Linked DNA regions of Homo sapiens: all the other regions are linked to region 7. Evidence: promoter capture Hi-C in 16 types of primary human blood cells and fetal thymus (Javierre and others, 2016). All regions are on one chromosome and are shown on one strand. Each heading gives the region's core, a stretch centred on a gene start or on the middle of the fragment in contact. The rest is flanking DNA. Distances are from core to core; before and after follow the strand shown.

Region 1 (2,700 bases), core at 1-2,500, 1.1 Mb after region 7:
AGCTTAAAAGGGAATTGGGCTGGGTCTGTTAGGACTAGAACATCTTGTGATGCTGTATGGTTGGCTAGATAATGGCTTCCCAAAGATGTTTCCATCCTAATCCCCAGAACCTGTGAATGTCATTTTATATGGCAAAAGATATTTTGCAGATTTGATTAAATTAAGGATTTGGAGATGGAGAGATTGCTCAGGTGAGAGTGATGTAATCACAAAGATCCTTATAAATGGGCCGGGCACGTAGGCTCACACCTGTAATCCCAGCACTTTGGGAGGCCAAGGTGGGCAGATCACCTGAGGTCAGGAGTTCGAGACCAGCCTGACCAACATGGGGAAACCCCGTCTCTACTAAAAATACAAAATTAGCCAGGCATGGTGGCACATGCCTGTAATCCCAGCTACTCAGGAGGCTGAGGCAAGAGAATCACTTGAACCCAGGAGGCAGAGGCTGCGGTGAGCCAAGATCGTGCCCATTGCACTCCAGCCTGGGCAACAAGAGCAAAACTCTGTCTCAAAAAAAAAAAAAAAAATCCTTATAAATGGGAAGCAGGAGCACAGACTGAGCAGGTGGAGACATGATGATGGAATCAATAGGTTGGAGTGATGCAAGGATGGGGTCACCAGCCAAGGAATGCAGGAAGCCCCTGAAAGCTGAAAAAAGCAAGGAAATGGATTCTCCTCTAAAGCTTCCAGAAGGAACACAGCCCTGCCAACATCTTGACCTAACCTGGTGAAACTGATTTTGGTTCTTCTGACTTCCAGACTGTAAAAGCATAAATATATATTGTTTTAAGCCTTTAAGTCTGTGGTAATTTATTACAGCAGCAACAGGAAACTCATTCTCTCTGCAAAGGCGAACAGTGGTGAGAGGAACACAGTGTCCTGTTAGAGACACTTTGGGCTCTGTGTCTGAGAATGGGCACCAGGAAGGTCGGTCTTGGCAGCAATGCTCTCAGTTGCATGGCACATGGCTGGGTACACACGATTCAAATCAAACTAGCAGCTCCATGCATCTTGCCCCATGAAGCAGAAGACAGTCTGTAGCGGGAGCTAGAAACCAGGTGCTAAAAAACAAGCCAGATGCCACGGATGCACATCCTCTCTTTTTGACATTCTGTCTAGGGATAGGTAGATTTTCATGTATCAAAACTGAGAATCCTGGGAAAGCCAGAGATCTAACATAGCCTCAGTGATCAGCTTGATTCCATTGAATAACTGGCCAATCCAAGGAAGAAAAGAATCTGTCAACTCAACTGGGTTTTCTGAATTGACTTTTATTGTTTCAGATTTCATTTATCTCAAACCCCACCAGACACCATCTCAAGATTCCCCAGGCAGAGCACAGATCCTTGGGTTTATCACCAACTTCAAACACCTAAAAATGATCCCCAAAGACAAGACAACCTTCTGTTTCCCAATCATGGAATTTTTCAGGCTGTGTATAGTCTCATGAAAGACAAAAAACATACAAAACAAAGCAAAATAAGACGGCACAGCTTCATGTGCCATAAGCAATAAATGCTTTTTAAAAAATCAGGACTCCAAACATCCTCGCAGTCATGTTTATTTTTTCTTATCTTTAAAAACAAAATGTACACAGTATCTTCACCACATAATTTCAGGGTGGATCTATGATAAACTGTAGTTTGATAAGAGGCAGAGTAAAGACACCTTTATCCTGAGTTTATCCCCAACAATGAACTTTTATAGATGAGGCTTCAAACAAGGCCACATTTAGGGAAAATAAAAGATCTGTGGTGATAAATGGCAGTGCTTTAATGCAGTTTATAAAACAAATCTCCTAAACATTTACTTTCCAGTCAAGCTTCTGGCTATAGCTGGGTTAGTACAAGCAACAAAATGAAAGAAACTTTCCAAACATTGACATTGGCACTCGAAAAATAATAAAGAGAGGTATTAAAACATTTCTAGTATGGTTTCATTCTGAAAACATGTTGAGATAAAATTTCTAAGAATGCAATATAATTACTAGCTGTTTTTTATTTGTAAGAGTTACATATTCTTAGATTCATATGATCAGGTTCACATAAACAAAAGGTTCTTCCTAAAAAATGGAACAATAAGAATATCATCCCACAGGCATGGCAGAAAGGAAGCCTCTGTTCAGTTCTTAGCCTGACCTTAGCCTAGAACATCCTTGGCTTAATTCAAATGATTGTGGTTTTCTTTGTTTTGTTTTGTTTTCTGTTTTTTGTCTCTCTCCCTTCCTTCTGCCCAAAGACCCTTATACATGCACAGACTGGTTTACAAGAAAATGCCAAAAAAAGAAGTGAGAATAGATAAATTTCAGTATATTCTCCAAACCAGTGGTTCTCAAGCTTGAATGGGTACAACTATTGCAAAAATGTAAAAAGTATTTAGAAATACAAAGAATATATTTTAAATGTAATTCTGATTCAGATAGTTCCTAAAATACAGAAATCCTTTCTATACCAAAAGAACGTAATGATTCTGATTGTTCTCTTAACTGGGGAAAGGGAAAGGTGTGGCCTGTCATAAACTGGTTCCATGGATATTTAAAAAGATTTTTCTGGGTAAGAATTAGAAGAAAAAGAAAAGAATCACCCCATCTCCCTTCTTCTCTTGTCAATTGCCTATGTGAAGGGGAGCTGAGTTTTGGGGCCTGAGGAAACAGTGTGGCCCCCAGGCAGGCTCGTGACATACCCCTTCCCTCACCCCATT
Region 2 (2,700 bases), core at 13-2,512, 1.0 Mb after region 7:
TTCTGTATCTGAAGTGGCAGCAGGGCAGAGATGAGCCAGCAGCTCCTCTCAGGCCCTGATGTTGTTCTGCTGGCTTCACCATCTCTGCCCTCTTTACTGTGTGTTTAGATTGTTGGCCAGCCTGTCACAGAGAGTGACGCCTCAGCATCAGGGGAGCAAGAGCTTCTCAATGTTGGCTGCACATTGGAATCACCTGGGAAGCTTTAAGAACTACTGATGCTGGGCCCCACTCCTACAGATGCTGCAAATAATCAGTCTGAGGTATGGTCCAGGCACTGGGATTTTAATTTGCAGCCTCTTCTGACACCACACTCTCCTTTCCTTCCTCCCCGACACATCCCCTTTGACAATCAGATTTCACAAGGTCCATCCTTCCACCAAAGTGAATTCTTATTTTGTAAATGCTTCTTAAAATTTCTGGTTTCTGGTTTTCGAACTCACAGCCAATTAGCAGGCACACTGATAAGAGGAAGAAATAAGACCTTTTGCCTCAACCACATGAGAAGACTGGAGCAACTAAGACAAGCAAGTGGAACTCGAAACTATACAAATCAGGACTATGGCGGATTGGGTCACTCCTAAGGACGTGGCTGGGGTGCAGAACAGAGTTCAGGAGATGGTTTTTAATAATGACCAGTAGTCTACACCACCAGTTGCCCACTAAGAAATACATGTGTCACTTTACATATAAGATGATGTGAATTAACTTTATTTTGATTATTTGTTAACAGTTCATCATCAGTGATGAGGAGGTGTATGTTATTTCCTATATTGGGAAGCTCCTTCCTCCACTAAATGTAAATCTATCCATTTGCCATTTTTTAACCGTTCTCTAGACAAGACAGCAGACCATGAGATGCAAGAGTTGTTAATTGGCAGAGCTGTGATTTATCTTTCCTTTGTAACACCCAGGGAGATTGCTCAGGGAATGGAATCTGTGTCTAGAAGCAGTGTGAGGTAAGGCTATTCATGTCTTGAAGTCAGACAGAGGAGTTTGGCTTTGAAGGGATGGAAATGTAGGTTCTCAAACAGAATAAAGAGCCATAAAAAGGGAGCTACAGGGTTGCCAGGTGTAGATGGGAGGCTCTTATGGAGAAGGTGGAACTGAGCTGGAATGAATGGGATTCAGGCAGGTGCAGCCCAAGGCAAGGCCCAAGGGAAAGAAAGGAATTGACAACACCTTCCCTGTCTTCAGAATCAGAAGCAGTGAGAATTCAGCAAGGAAGTAGTCTTAGCTCTTTGGGTTTGAAGAATCTCTTTGGGATATAATTTCACTTTTTCTCTGCCTGGTGCTAGAGTCTAAAGCTGGCAGTGGAAATTCCAAGATAAGTTGTTCTTAGAACCATAAGGGCTGGCTAACAGGCCAGTGGGGACACAGCCTAGAGGGCCAGCAGCTATCTGGGGGCCCTAGGGTTGGACAGGCCCAGGCAAGGTGAGGGCAAAGTCAGGTGACTTCATTTACCCAGGTGCAAAGAAAGGCGTCAGCCTTCAAAGGCTTTCCATTGTTAACAAGCAGACCAGAGGCAACTAATCACTGAATGGAAACTGATAATTTTGCTGCTCATTTATTTTCCCAGTTAATGCTTTTCTTTTTTTTTTTTTTTTTTTTTTTTGAGACGGAGTCTCGCTCTGTCGCCCAGGTCGGACTGCGGACTGCAGTGGCGCAATCTCGGCTCACTGCAAGCTCCGCTTCCCGGGTTCACGCCATTCTCCTGCCTCAGCCTCCCGAGTAGCTGGGACTACAGGCGCCCGCCACCGCGCCCGGCTAATTTTTTGTATTTTTAGTAGAGACGGGGTTTCACCTTGTTAGCCAGGATGGTCTCGATCTCCTGACCTCATGATCCACCCGCCTCGGCCTCCCAAAGTGCTGGGATTACAGGCGTGAGCCACCGCGCCCGGCCCCCAGTTAATGCTTTTCAACACAACCCTTTATATTTCCGAAGAATAAAGACTTGTAAAAGAGATGGGGGAGTTATGGCTGCAGAAAACTGGCCCTTACTTTGCTCTGCTGACAGTTTTATAAGGCCAAGGAAGTTCAAAAAGTAAAAAGACTTTCTAAGCAATTCCACAGAAATTCTAAGCATTTTCAGGAAACCCATTTTTAACTTTAAAAAAATATTAATACAAGATTAGTTGCAGTGATTTAATTAGTAAACCATGACAGATGGTTAACATGCAGCATTTTTTTTTTAATGTGAACAAAATCACCAGTTTTTTTTTCAGTTTGTTTTTTCTTATTAATCTTGGGTAAAGATTCCTTGGGTCTTCAAAGATAACTACTCAGTCTACTTTTTAAATGGATAGTTTGTCTGAATAATTTTGTTAAAGCTTTAGTAAATGAATGTTGGGAGTGTAATTTCCAGAGTACAGGCTGAATGCAATGACCCCTAACACAGCCCAGATCTGGTCACCATGGACTGATGGCAGAGAGGATCCAGATATTTTGGTTGGATTCATGATTAGAGACTAAATCAGTATGATGCCTATGAAAAGGTCTGGTTTTTAAATATTTGCCATGGAGCTAGAGTAGAAGGCAGGGTGACAGAGGCAGCGGTGGCTGGAGTGTAACCAGCCCATGAATCTCAGGCAGGACAGGCTTGCATGCTTCTGTATATTTCTCTAGGAGAGAACACTGGGCTTCAAGGCTAGTCTGTTCTGTCTTCAGGCTCTAGGAATCTTCTTGTCAAACCCCTTCATTGG
Region 3 (2,700 bases), core at 198-2,697, 1.9 Mb before region 7:
TGGGGGATAGGACTTCGACATAGGAATTTTGAGGGGACACAATTCAGCTCAAAACAGTCATTAAATATGATGTTAGCTGTAGGTCTTTGTAGATGCCATATATCATGTTAAAGTTTCATTTTATTTCTAGTTTGCTCAGAGATTTTGTGGAGTTTTTTTAATCACAACTGAGTATCGGATTTTATTAATTTTTTTCTGCATCTATTGAGATGATTATATGTATTTCCTTTCTCCCTCTGTTAATATGCTGAATTACATTGGCTTTTCAAATATTAAGCCAACCTAGTATTTCTGGGATTAATCTCATTGTTCAATATATTATCCTTTTTATATACTACCATTTTTTGAGAAGATATTGTAAGTACCTTTGTAATGAATGTGAATGTTGATAGTGAGGAGAGATGCTGTGAAAAGCTTAATACCCATTTAGTATAACATGGAGAGTAAGCATATTACTTAGAAATAAGTAGGCAAATATCAGAAATACAGTTCAAAGAGTTAAAAGTGATTGTTTCTGAAAGTAGGAGGGTCAGGTTGCTCTTGTTGCGGTTTTTGCACCATTTTACTTCTTAAAATTATAGCTATAGGTCAGGCGCAGTGGTTCACGCCTGTTATCCCAGCACTCTGGTAGGCCCAAGTGGAAGGACTGCTTGAGGACAGGAGTTGGAGATCAGCCTCGACAAAAGACCGACAGCCCACCTCCACAAAAAAAAAAAAAAGAAAGAAAATTAGCTAGCTTGGTGAAAATTAAAATAAAATAAAATTACCAGTATGTGCACATTACTTTGGTAGAAGTAAAAATAATGAGAAAGAGAGAAAACCCTCCCAGTAACTAGTCATTTGTTTTTATGATTCAGCTGGTTTGTATTTTGCATGGTGCATGGTGTGCAAACATCTGAAAATGTCTGTTTTCCACTGTTTGTAACTAACTCTTCCCAGCATGATTTATCAATTAGCCTTTATTTCCTCCCATGACTTATGAATATACCTTAAGCATAGTTGTTTATAATGGGATGTTTCTAAACGACCTATCCTTATCCTGGTACCACGCTGATTTGAGCTACAGGGCAAATGGGTGCACCATGGTGGGCGAGGTCATTCACGGAAAAAAGAATGTGCAGTGGTGCCGAGGTTGGTAAGAGCAGGCGGCTTGTACATGTAAATGCATGGTTTGCAGGAATCTGGGAGTGGATAGGCTGACGGGTGATGAATATTCAAAGCACAACTGTAAGCGACTTTAGTTACAGCGAAACTCTAAGGCACGCTGCCCTTCGGAAGGAAACACGGCATTCCCCAACCTGATAGCCCTCCGCGACGCATTACGCACCGCGGACAGCTGGAGAGGCCGAGGCGCTCTCGCTTTGATTTCGGCGCCTCCGCCCTCGCGGGGAGAGATTGGCTGCGGCCGCGGGACGGGGTAGTGAGCGCGTCACTTCCTGCCGCTGCCAGGCGCGTCCTCCCGCGCGCTATGACGGCCAGCGCACAGCCGCGCGGGCGGCGGCCAGGAGTCGGAGTCGGAGTCGTGGTGACCAGCTGCAAGCATCCGCGTTGCGTCCTCCTGGGGAAGAGGAAAGGCTCGGTTGGAGCTGGCAGTTTCCAACTCCCTGGAGGTCATCTGGAGTTCGGGTGAGCAGCCGCGGACGCGAGGAAACCGGGGCGTGCGCAGAGGGACGAACTCACGCCGTGCTTGCTTCCGTGTGCCGTGCGTGAGAACGTCCGCGCTGACGCTGCGTCCTTTCTTGCGCGTTCCCTCGGTTCCTCCCCTCGACTTCTGGGCGACGTAGGATCGCGCCCAGGAGGGGGCGCTGTGCTGGGTCAGGCGAGGTCTTTGCTAGCTGGGTCTTTCCGGCTGCGCCCCTGCTGGGTGGTGGTTGGGAGTTCGTCTGTGAGGTGTGTTTCTCACAGCTTACACACAAAAGGAGGAAAGCAGGTGTGTGTAAACCTCCAGCAGCCCGATATTGTCAGCTAAGACATTGCACCGTTTCCATGTGATTGATTGATTGATCGATTGATTGATTTGAGACTGTGTCTCGCTCTGTAGCCCAGGCCAGAGTGCAGTGGTGCTATCTCCAGTCACTGCAACCTCCGCCTCCTGGGTTCAAGCGATTTTTGTGTCTCAGCCTCCTGGTAGCTGGGATTACAGGCGCCCGCTACCACGCCGTGCTAATTTTTGTATTTTTAGTAGAGACGGGGTTTCGCCATGTTGGCCAGGCTGGTCTCGAACTCCTGACCTCAGGTGATCCACCCGTGAGGTCAATGACCATAGCCAACATTGAGCTCTAATGGGCTTTTTGTTAAAGGCTGGATAATATGCCAAGCTCTTTGCATGTATACTTTCATTTGATCTTTACATAACTGGCATACTCAGTGGGCTAAATTTGATGGGAGAACAAACAGGAAATGGTTTTATTTTCTCCTTCCACTGCCTTCAAACATGATTTTTTCTTTCCCTCTTCAGTGACGTTTCCTGCAAATTCTATAGTTTTCTTGTCACTTGGTTATAAAAATAAATCACATTTGGGTCAGTATGATTCACTTCCAAGCATTTAAAAGTCCAATCCAATTTAAACCTTCAGTGTCACTTCCAGTTTCTAATCCCTCCCCTGCAGTGCATAAAGGAGGTGTGAGCCATTGTTCTGCTTTTCTGTATCCTCCTCCTCTTCTCACCTGGCTGTCTCTGAGTTTCCTTCTTTCTCCAGT
Region 4 (2,700 bases), core at 199-2,698, 1.0 Mb after region 7:
CAGCATCATTTATTGAACAGGGAGTCCTTTCCCCATTGCTTATTTTTGTTGACTTTGTTGGAGATCAGATAGCTATAGGTGTGTGGCTTTATTTCTGGGTTCTCTATTCTCTTTCTTTGGCCTATGTGTCTGTTTTTGTATCAGTACTATATTGTCTTGATTACTGTAGCCTTGTAGTATAGTTTGCAGTTGGGTAATGTGATACCTCTGGCTTTGTTCTTTTTGCTTAGGATTGCTTTGGCTATCCAAGCTTTTTTTTGGTTCCATATGAATTTTAGAATAGTTATTTTCTAATTCTGTGAAAAATCACAGTAGTTACCTTTTTATAAACATTATTTTGTTACTATTTTCCCAGACTACTAACTGTTCTTCATAAATATGTTTTTTAATGACAGTATAATTTTTGATTATTTGGATATTTGATTATTTAATAACCATGATCCTGTTTGGACATTTGGATTATTCACAAATGTTCACTATTTGAAGAATCAGATTATAAGTAAATATTTGTCCACATATTTTATTGTTTCCTTATAATGGATTTTTGGATGTGGGCTTATTGGATTTTCAAATATATATTTATGGGAATATATTTCATGGAAAGTTTATAAGCTTTTGCACTCTAGGCTTATTTTAATGGTCTTGCACTCTAACAAACAGTGGGTGTGAAAGCTTAATGCCACCTTGTTAGCATTGGTTGTTACCTTTGGAAATAAGTGTAAAAACATTTTATTGTGGTTTTAATTCATATTTCCCTGATTAGTAGTGATTTTGAACATTTTTTCATACTTACTAATCAATTGTCATCTTATAGAGAATTGTCTTTTATATTCTTTGCTAAATTATTAGAGTATCAATATTTTTCTTATTGACTAAAAGTATTCTATAACTTAAGGACATTAATTATTTCTACTGTGTTTGTTGTAAATTTCCTTTCTTGGTTTATACTTTGCCTTTAATTTTGCCTATGATTTTTGACATGCAGGTGTTTTTAGTTTTTATGTAGACATATATACATAAACTTTTCCTTTACACAGATATTGTACTTAGAAAGATATTTCATTTTACAGGAAATTTAACCAGACACTTTTATTTTCTTCTGATTTTTTTAATAGTTATGTTTTTGGTTCTTTTTTGTTTTTTTTTTAGATGGAGTTTCGCTCTTGTTGCCCAGGCTGGAGTACAATGGCGTGATCTCAGCTCACCACAACCTCCGCCTTCAGGGTTCAAGTGATTCTCCTGCCTCAGCCTCCCGAGTAGCTGAGATTACAGGCATGTGCCACCACGCCCAGCTAATTTTGTATTTTTAGTAGAGACGGGGTTTCTCCATGTTGGTCAGGCTAGTCTTGAACTCCCAACCTCAGGTGATCCATCCGCCTTGGCCTCCCAAAGTGCTGGGATTACAGGCGTGAGCCACCACGCCTGGCCTATTTTTGTTTTATATTTAATTACTTAAATCATCTAGAGAATGTGTAATTATGTTTAAATATGCTGTGAGGTAAAGCTGTAATTTAATTATTTTCTCACCAGTTTAGTTTTTCATTTAATCTGTAGGATTATTTTGTCAAGTTCTAAGAGTAAGTTCCAATGGGATTTTTACTGAGATTTTGTTAGATGCATAACTTACTTTGGGAAAACAAACATCTTTACAAACTTAAATATTCTTATTTGGGAATATAGTATTTCTTTTTAGTTACTCAAGTCTTAAGAATACCTTTCACTAATGTTCGGTTCTTCATCTTCAATAGGTTCTAGACATATCTTTGTATGAGTATGTGTAGATATTTTCATTGCTATTAATGAAATCTGTTTTTTTCCAGCTAGGTCTACCAACTGGTCATTTTGTGGTAAAGTTTTATATTTTTATATATTTATCTTTTAAATAACCAGTTTACTAAACTATTAATGGAAAAATTTTCCATTTTATTTATTTTGGGTTTTAGTACATAATATAGTATGTAATTTAGTTTTTAAAAATTGCATGCAATTCTTTCTAATAGTTACACCTCTTTTATTATATATTTTACATTATATTACATGGGCTAGAATATCCAGAACAGTATTAAAGAGTAATAATAGCCGTCTTTGTCTAATTGGTGATTTTATTGATGTGCTTTACCATTAATTCTGACACTAGCTGTTGCTAATATGATAAAGACTATCCATCCTTTTATACTTAGTTTCCTTAAGGTTTAAATTAATAATTGGTGTTGGTTGTTATCAGAAAGCTTTTTGGCATCTATTGAGGTGTCTATAAAGTTTTTACTACTTACTATCAAACTGTACCCAAATGTCTAATAAACTCACCCTGGCAGTAGATAAAGGATCAATAGCATAATGGATACATCCTATCTTTCTTAACCTTTGTCAAATATAGTTTTCAATTAGACTTTCTACACTTTTATTAAGGAATTTTGCAGACATATTCATAAGCAATGCTGCTGTTAGGCTTTAGCGTTAGAATTAGGCTAGCTTTCCATTTTTTCCAATGTTCTGGAAGGATTCATTTTGCATTATTATATTCTATTGCTGGAAAATGTTTAAGAATCTTAGAGGTAAAACTATCTAGCACTGGAGCCTTTTTGTTGTTATAGTTTTCTTTAATCTGCAAGAGTTTCTCATCTGTTCTTTGTCTTACTTGACATTTTTGAGTACAGGGTAAATATTTGCTGGAATATTTCTTATTCTAATATTTCTTTT
Region 5 (2,700 bases), core at 195-2,694, 1.1 Mb after region 7:
TTGTTTGCCTTCTCTCTAGAAACCCTCTGTACTGTGGGGCTGGCATGATGGTGGGTGGGAGGGAGTGGGAGATAGCAGTGGATGAGGTGCCCAGAGCCTGGAAATTCTGGGGCTAAAACCTCTAATGAGGACTGCTCCTCGTCCTTATTACCAAAGTTATTTCTTGTTTTTTATTTAGATATTTGTATCTCAGTGTCTACAACAGTAAAATGTGGCCTAAACCAACTATAGCTCACAGGGATACTACAGTGAGCTGATATTAGAATGAAAGCATTATGACAACAATTTTAAAAATTCTTCAAATAATCCATCTTTTCTTTGGGATAGCCCCACTTTTAAAAATAGTCATCATAATCCACATGTCCCAAAGAGACATACTGCGTGTAATAGCTGTGTAAATAAGGAACCTCTGGACTTTGAGATTCCCCTTGTGGGCCTCTGGAGTGGCTAAAGATTAGCTCCTGTCAGAAGGAATTCATTCCCTTCTTGGAGGTTCAGAAAGGCTTGCCTCCTATTACCAGGTTTCCCCTTCAGGTCAGCACTTCTGTCTTAGCCAGGCTGTGGCTAAGGGACCCTGAGTGTGTGGGACTGATCAGCCTTGCAGCTGATGGAGAGCTCGCCATTGGATTCCAGCTTCTTTTTGGGGGTACCATGAGCCAAACAGTAATCCCTGGTCCAGCTTAGTACTGGGTTTTTTTACCCTAAACTCCCACCCTCTTGTCATTCCTGGAGCTGGGTGAGTCACAAATTTTGTCCCTCATCCCAGTTTTGGAAGCTAGAACAAAATGTGAAAAAGGTTCCAGCACGCGAGGGAAGCCTGTGCTGGAGCCTCTGAGGCTGTGGAGCAGAGGAAGCACTCACAAATCATTCCCCAGCTACCAGAGAGCTGCATGGGAAACGCCCAGAGAAGAACCTTGAAGACTAATGTATGTAGAACTCTTCAGCTGGATCTATCGGCCCAGCTCAAAGAACGTCATAATAACCAGGATGCAAGAGAAGAGTGTTCAGGGCAAGATGGTTGAACTGAGCCCTGGAGCTTGGTGGTGGGCAAGGATGCTTTCTGTGTTGACCCTGCAAATAATAAACATATCTGAAGTGGTTAGTGGAAAAACTACTCAACACTAATGACAAAGCTTCTCTTTTTTGCTTACCCTTGTGATCAACTGGGGTTTTAGATCTCCCCATGATCTCATCCTCTGTGGCATTCAAGTTCTGGATCAAAAAGTATGTGGTCATTCTCCCTTTACCTTTCACTTCAATTTCACCCCTCTCAATGATTTTAAACCCTTGATTTTTCAAGGCTCTGCACAGAGAAAAAAAGTGCATCAGATATCAAAGATTGTGGGTCTGTAACTCAAGAGTTGGCTACAATGCAAAGGGCTACTCAAGAGGAAAAGTCCAGGACACAGGACACACAACAGCAGGGGAGGGAAGATCCCAGACATCTGCCTGCTGAAGCAGGACAGAGGCCGTGGGGAAAGTGAGGATGAGATATTCTGAACAGGATGCCAAAGGCCAAAAGAGAACACAGGGACCCATCAAAACCCTCCCAACCCTGCCACCAATTTTCCTCCCTCCAGCTCAACCCTCATATGGGCATCTCTCACGTTTCTACACACCATGCTGTCAGTGCCCATGTGGACACCACCTTTCATGTTTCTGCCACGTAAGACTCTTGGGTATCAACACTCTTCTTTCCATCTTCCCCAAGTGCACCATATACCCCATGCTTGCTACTATGCTCATCCTAACTACCCAAGCTTTCTCCACCACAATTTCTGTCTGCCAAGGAACTGAAGAGGAGGACTATAGGGAAGGGACCATGAAAAGAGACAGAGCTATGGGGTAATTACAAAACGTTTCCCTGTTTATTTATTTACTAGCCACCAAGTGATGTTAGAGAAAAGCCAAAGAACCACTCAGACCAATGAGGATTCAAATTCATGACCACCTGCCTCGGCACTCCATCGAGCCTTCCCTTGCCCTTGGCCAGGTTGGTAGAGAGTTCAGACCTTCACCACAGTCCTCATGGGCCTCCATTTGGCATCTGCTCCCCTCACTCATACGCTGGTGGCTGTGCCTCCTACTTTATGCCCTGATTCATCTACAAAATTACATTGATTACAGGTGAGAGCCTGTGACTTCTCACCCCATGACCACACCATCCTGTCCCCCAATCTCCGAGGATGAGGTATATTTCTTGTCCAGGGTCTCCTCACCCTCACCCCCTTCCCACCACCTCTGGGCCTTGCTCCATTGGCCACCCCACGCTTATCTTCATCTCCCATTCCATTTGCCTTTCTCCTTCTGCTTTTCAGTGTGCTTATGTCTCTTCCATCCTAAACAGAAACAAACAAAACAGCCTCTCACCTGCTTTAATCTCATGCAAACTTTCTCCTCTTTTTATTCTTCAGCCCAACGTCTATCCCACCATTCTACTACAACCACTTTTGAGAATGTCCCCAAAACCTCTAGTGAGTATTTTTCAGTCCTTATTACTACATTTGACATTTTTGTTCAATTCTTCCTTCCTAAAGTCATCCACAAGAGTGCTTCTCACCCTCAACTCTCCTGGTCCTTTCTGAGTATTTCTTCTCCTGTCTCTTCCCTGGGCTCCTCTTCCTTCTGTGCCACTTAAATATTGGTTCTGCACAGGATTCCATTCTTTTCCCACTGTTCTTTGCACACTGCATCCTTCCC
Region 6 (2,700 bases), core at 186-2,685, 1.0 Mb after region 7:
TATAATTACATTATAGATTCAGTGTAATACTTAGCCAGCTCCATTTTTTTTTCTTTTTTTTTGGTAGGTATTGATAAACTGATTCTAGAATTTATATGACTATGTAAAGCAGCAGAAGCAGCAGTCTCCAACCTAATTTTGGCAGCAGGAACTGGTTTTGAGGAAGACAATTTTTCCATGGATGGGGCAGGGAGGGGGATGGCTTTGGGGTGAAACTGTTCCACCTCAGATCATCAGGCATTCGATTCTCATAAGGAGCACACAACCTAGATCCCTCGCATGTGCAGTTGACAATAGGGTTCGCACTCCTATGAGAATCTAATGCCATCACTGTTCTGACAGGAGGCAGAGCTCAGCCAGTAATGCTCACTTGCCTGACACTCATTCCTGCTGTGTGGCCCAGTTCCTCACAGGCCATGGATTGGTACCAGTACATGGCTTAGGGACTGGGGAGCCCTGATGTAAAGGACCTATAATATTCAAAACAATTTTGAAAAAGAAGAATTTGGAGAACTTACACAAACTGAATTAAAGACTTACTATAATCAAGAAAATGTGGAGATCAGGCACAATGACTCATGCCTGTAATCCTAGCGGTTTGGGAGGCCGAAGCAGGAGGATTGCTTGAGGCTGAGAGTTCGAGAACAGCCTGAGCAAAGTAGCAAAACCCCATTTCTACAGAAAGTTTAAAAATTAGGCAGCTGTGGGCCAGGCACGGTGGCTCACGCCTGTAATCCCAGCACTTTGGGAGGCCAGCGCAGGTGGATCATGACGTCAGGAGATCGAAACCATCCTGGCTAACACGGTGAAACCCTGTCTCTACTAAAAAATACAAAGAACATTAGCCAGGTGTGGTGGTGGGCACCTGTAGTCCCAGCTACTCGGGAGGCTGAAGCAGGAGAATGGCATGAACCCAGGAGGCAGAGCTTGCAGTGAGCCAAGATCGCGCCACTGCCCTCCAGCCTGGGTGACAGAGCGAGACTCTGTTTCAAAAGAAAAAAAAATTAGCCAGCTGTGGTGGTATGTGCCTATAGTTCCAACTATTTGGGAGGCTGAGGAGGAAAGATCACTTGAGCCCAGGAGGTCGGGGTTACAGTGAACTGTGATCACACAATTGCACTCCAATTTGGGTAACAGAGTGAGACCCTGTCCCTAAATTTAAAAAATAAATAAAAATAAAATAAATTTGGTGTTGGTATAAGGATAAATATATAGATAAATGGAATAGAATAGAGAATCTAGAAATAAACCCACACTTATATGGTCAATTGATTTTTTTTTTCCAAAAGTGTGAAGATAATTCAGTGGGAAAAAGGATAGTCTTTACAACAAATGTTGATGGAAGAATTTGGTATACATATGAAAAATAACGTTGATTCTTACCTCATACAGAAAAATTAATTCAAAATGGATCACTATGTTAAATTCAAAAATGAAAATTATTGAGCTTCTAGAAGAAAGCATAGGATAAAATCCTTGTTGTCTTGGGAGGCAAAGATTTCTTAGGACACAAAACCCACTAACTGTAAAAAAATTATAAATTGTATTTTATCAAAAGTATTCTCTTTTGTTTTTGAAAAATGCCATTAAGAAAAAAGGAGATTGTGAGTTGTGGGACAGTTGGAACTTACCTACCTGGCTGTCCACGGCTTAAAATGATATAGCCACTTGACAATTTCTTACAACTCAGGAATTCTACTACTCCCTGGTACAAAGTAAGGAACTACTGCTAGCTGCAACAAAATGGATGAATCTCACAGAAATAATGTTGAGCAAAAGAAATTGGACACAAAAAGTATATACTATATCATTTCATTTCTATGGTGTTCCAGAATAAAGCAAGAATTGCCCTATAATGATGGATGAGTGGTGACCTGTGATCTGGGTAGCCATGGGAGAATTGACTACATAAGGGTTCCAGGGAACTTTGGGGGATGATGCTTACATGACTGCATACATTTTTCCAAACTCCTCGATTTGTACATTTAAAATGGGTGTGTCCATTGTGTGAACATGAACATTGCGTGAACACCTAAATAAAATTCATTTTTAAAACAATATTTACTGATCCAGCACTAGAAGCTAAGCCTCCTGATTTCTAACACAGTATTTATTTTTACTTGCCCCTTTCCCCCAAAATAATATTGGCTCCTTTTCTCTCTATACTTCCTACCTCCCATGGGATGGAGAGATGGAATGTGGGAGGCAAGGCCAGTGTGAGCACTGGCTCTGAGGTTTAGGCCTCGATATTCAGGAGAGTGGTGTAGGAGGAAGATGAACCACTGGGTTTTAGACACATGGAGGCTTAGTTCAGGGCTTTGGGCCTCCCGGTTAGTTTGTTTAGTCTTGTTGATCTAGGAGGAGATCACACCAGATGAAAGGATACAGTTGACTTTGGAGGAGGGTGAAGCAGAGCTGGGAAAAGAATCAGATAAGTCATTAGAGACATAAAAAAATAGAAAGCAATTTTATATATGCCATGGAGGAGAGGTTGTTAGGAGGTACTGAGGAAAGTGCAGACCTAGTGATCTTGGTAAAGTGAACATCAGATCCACAGCTTTGATGTCAGCATGGTTGGGAGTTGGGTGCTCTTGCCTACTTCCTCAGTGACTTAGGAGAGTTTACTTCATGTCACTCAGAGCCAGTCTTCGAAGATGGGGACAAATCATGGTTTATTAATTGATTCTGAGATTCATTCTG
Region 7 (2,700 bases), core at 126-2,625:
ATTTGAACTCCATCGTCTATAAATAATGATGGATAAAAAATAATTTAAAGATTACTTATGTATTAAGGTTCTGTACTACATTTGGGAGATCTGAGAATTAAAAGTAAATACACACATACAAGGTGATTATATAGTTATCACATTTAGTATGTGTTATACAAAAATACAGTGGGCAGAGTGTTTCCAGAATTATAAGGAAACTGGGCGAGAGAGTTTTATCATAAATATTAAGAAGTGCCTTTTTATTTCAATGCACTGTCCTTTAAACAATCAGAAACGTGTAAAAAATCAAAAGTGCAGAAGTACAGTTAGAATAAAATAATCCACAAAAAGACAGTACTCTAACTGAAATAATTATATTGGGAAATCTCTCCTTCTAGAACCACATTCCAGAAGCATGAAACTACCTGGGAAAAGTCTAAGAAATAATAAGGTGGTGAAAGAGGCTATGATGGGAGAGGAAGAATGTTAGATAAATTATATGGATTTGGAATTAAAAGGATAAAGCAAGATGCAAAGGAGCAAAGTGCTATTTTATTTTTCAACAGTTAGACCTGTTGGGAAGAGGCCAGTCAGATGAAATTACAGTACCTCTCACAATGACTAAGGAGTCGGGCAATGGGAGGTTTTAGTTGAAATGGCAAGTTCTGACCTGAGGTGCGACTTCAGACTTCTGCAGTCTGCCTTGTTTCGACTTTAGGAGGTGAGAGGAAAATTACTTCCAATAATATAGGATTCAACCTATAAATGATGGGGCTCAAGAGACAGGACCGACAGTCAGGGCAGGAGGAGGAGCAAGACCGGACCTAGAAGCATTCTGAAAATGTGTAGGTTTTCACTGGGGCGCGCCAGAAGGGCACTCTCCGCCCCCTCGCCCGAGGACGTGTGACATCTCCGGAGGAAGCCTCCGAGATTCCTGTGAAAATGGGAGGTCCACACGCCCATTCGCGATGACAGACACAGAGAGGGCTGCGCAGCCTTGAACACAGAACCGGGCCCAGGTGGAGTCCGCCGGCTTCTGGAGAGATCTGCGAGACGAAATGGTGTCGGCGCAGCGTCGCCGGCGCGGCGGGGCAGCGTGGGGACCCTCTGACCCTGAAGGTCCCCCTGCCCGCCGCGCCCGGCCCCCGTGAGCCGTTGGGTCTGGGGAAGGGAGGGCCCTTACCCATGTGCTGCGTGTCCAGCTGCACGGCCGGCATCTCCTTCAGAGGGATGTGGCCAGTCCCCCCGTCTCTGCAGCACCGCAGGCAGCACAACACCGAGGTGGCCATCGCGCAGGGACCACCGACTCCGCCGCCGTCCCTAGACCGAGGCGACACTGCCCCCCGCCGCTCAGCTCCGTCTCCTGCCCCCGCCCGAGGTCCGGACTTGTCTATGTGGAGCTCGGAGGCCGGTACAGCGACACCCTAGGCCGGGAGGGCGCAATGCAGGCTGAGCTTAGGCTGGCCTGCGAGGAAGACGCGGAGAATCAAGGGGCCGGGGAGAGACCGGACAGGGCGAGCGGCCGGGCTGGGCCGGGGAGACGGGTGGGGCTAGTGGCGCGCGGAGGCGTGGCAGGGGGCGTGGCGTTGCGGGCCTGCGGATGTGGGACGGCGTGCGCCTGCGCACCAGCTGGTTTTTTCTCCTTGGGCGGTTTCGCGCACGCCCCCAGGGCTGACAGGTGAGTGGGGCTGTCTGTCCCTCAGTACTTCCAGGGGTTTTCCTATGCAGAATTTTTAAAACGCAGCACCCCTTGGTCCCGGCCTCGACATTATTTCTAGGGATGGATTGACAGAAGCGAATCAGTTTGGGGGAAGGGGAGCTAATGGAAATGACTTCCGAGTTTTCCCTCCGCGGGCCCAGGTTGAGCAGGCTTTGCCACCACGGAGAGCCCCAGTCTCCCTGCCGTGGCTGGTTTCCCTCACATGCTAAATAGACTCACGTGGGCCCCAGGAGTAATGCCTGTTAGTGACTGCACTGTGGATGTTCACCGGGGCTCACGCGGGCCCTAATGCATTTTCGGTGCAGAGACGCGCCCTACCTGGCCCATCGGGCTGCGTGGTCCGGGGCGCGTGGGAGGCCGCCCTGGGAGCAGAACGCTGGGGCGGGGTCGGGGGCGATTCTTGACCTGCCTCTTCCAAGCTCCCCCTGTCTGGTGCACTGAGGGTTCCGAGGAATGTGACGGGAACCCAGGAGGCTGCGGGAAGTCTGCTGGGTCCCGAGGGAAGCCTTCGGCTCCTACCGTCCGCTACTTTCTGCTTCCACACGGGAGGCTGTCACCTGTCATCTCCTTCCCCACTTAGATCATCCTTCCGTGGTAGATTTTACATCTTCAGGCCGGGTGCAGTGGCTCACGCCTGTAATCCCAGCACTTTGGGAGGCTGAGGTGGGCGGATCACCTGAGGTCAGGAGTTCAAGACCAGGATGGCCAACATGGTGAAACCCCGTCTCTACTAAAAATACAAAAATTAGCTGGGTGCGGTGGTGCACGCCTGTAATCCCAGCCACTCAGGAGGTTGTGGCACGAGAATCGCTTAAACCCGGGAGGCGGAGGTTACAGTGAGCCTAGATCGCGCCACTGCCCTCCAGCCTGGGCAACAGAGACTCTGTCTCCAAAAAAAAAAAAAAAAAAAAAAAGATACCGCTTGGCATCTGGAAATGTCTGGGACGACCTCTAGAATTAACCTAGCTCAAACCTCTGTTCCCAGATCAGTTTCATCC

The links. Contacts are between HindIII fragments. The CHiCAGO score rates a contact against its expected background, and 5 or more counts as called.
Region 1: a contact is called between a fragment that was not itself captured here and the fragment with the promoter of SPRYD7 in region 7, in 1 of 17 cell types (fetal thymus). The highest score is 6.3, in fetal thymus.
Region 2: a fragment that was not itself captured here is called in contact with the fragment with the promoter of SPRYD7 in region 7 in 1 of 17 cell types (total B cells); the score reaches 6.0 in total B cells.
Region 3: a contact is called between the fragment with the promoter of NUDT15 here and the fragment with the promoter of SPRYD7 in region 7, in 4 of 17 cell types (total CD4 T cells, non-activated CD4 T cells, neutrophils and 1 more). The highest score is 6.0, in total CD4 T cells.
Region 4: a fragment that was not itself captured here is called in contact with the fragment with the promoter of SPRYD7 in region 7 in 3 of 17 cell types (total B cells, fetal thymus and non-activated CD4 T cells); the score reaches 5.6 in total B cells.
Region 5: a contact is called between a fragment that was not itself captured here and the fragment with the promoter of SPRYD7 in region 7, in 1 of 17 cell types (fetal thymus). The highest score is 5.9, in fetal thymus.
Region 6: a contact is called between a fragment that was not itself captured here and the fragment with the promoter of SPRYD7 in region 7, in 5 of 17 cell types (total B cells, naive CD4 T cells, total CD4 T cells and 2 more). The highest score is 9.0, in total B cells.

What each region holds. Positions count from the first base shown.
Region 1 is chr13:51,080,868-51,083,567 of GRCh38, forward strand. C13orf42 (chromosome 13 open reading frame 42) reads right to left here. Exons shown (of 4, transcript NM_001351589.3): 4 at 1,252-2,700. Among named protein-coding and RNA genes, the nearest start is that of C13orf42, 29 kb to the right of the region's middle. The HindIII fragment of the contact is 1,139 bases long and covers 682-1,820 here.
Region 2 is chr13:50,976,227-50,978,926 of GRCh38, forward strand. No RefSeq gene overlaps it. Among named protein-coding and RNA genes, the nearest start is that of RNASEH2B-AS1, 67 kb to the left of the region's middle. The HindIII fragment of the contact is 2,127 bases long and covers 200-2,326 here.
Region 3 is chr13:48,036,279-48,038,978 of GRCh38, forward strand. It overlaps NUDT15 (nudix hydrolase 15), which reads left to right and starts at 1,448. Exons shown (of 3, transcript NM_018283.4): 1 at 1,448-1,626. The coding sequence starts at 1,469. LOC124903172 (a long non-coding RNA gene) reads right to left here and starts at 1,714. Exons shown (of 2, transcript XR_007063788.1): 1 at 1,328-1,714. RefSeq lists enhancers at 576-1,452, 1,453-2,328, 1,495-1,734, 1,785-1,944. The HindIII fragment of the contact is 6,950 bases long and covers 413-2,700 here.
Region 4 is chr13:50,958,325-50,961,024 of GRCh38, forward strand. It overlaps a transcript of RNASEH2B not described here. Among named protein-coding and RNA genes, the nearest start is that of RNASEH2B-AS1, 49 kb to the left of the region's middle. The HindIII fragment of the contact is 1,556 bases long and covers 671-2,226 here.
Region 5 is chr13:51,005,839-51,008,538 of GRCh38, forward strand. It overlaps the pseudogene GUCY1B2. Among named protein-coding and RNA genes, the nearest start is that of RNASEH2B-AS1, 96 kb to the left of the region's middle. The HindIII fragment of the contact is 627 bases long and covers 1,132-1,758 here.
Region 6 is chr13:50,938,367-50,941,066 of GRCh38, forward strand. The region is part of intron 5 of RNASEH2B (ribonuclease H2 subunit B); the gene reads left to right. Among named protein-coding and RNA genes, the nearest start is that of RNASEH2B-AS1, 29 kb to the left of the region's middle. The HindIII fragment of the contact is 6,799 bases long and covers 1-2,700 here.
Region 7 is chr13:49,934,965-49,937,664 of GRCh38, forward strand. SPRYD7 (SPRY domain containing 7) reads right to left here and starts at 1,376. Exons shown (of 5, transcript NM_020456.4): 1 at 1,166-1,376. The coding sequence starts at 1,271. RefSeq lists enhancers at 1,187-1,436, 2,307-2,356 and a silencer at 1,477-1,726. The HindIII fragment of the contact is 4,962 bases long and covers 1-2,700 here.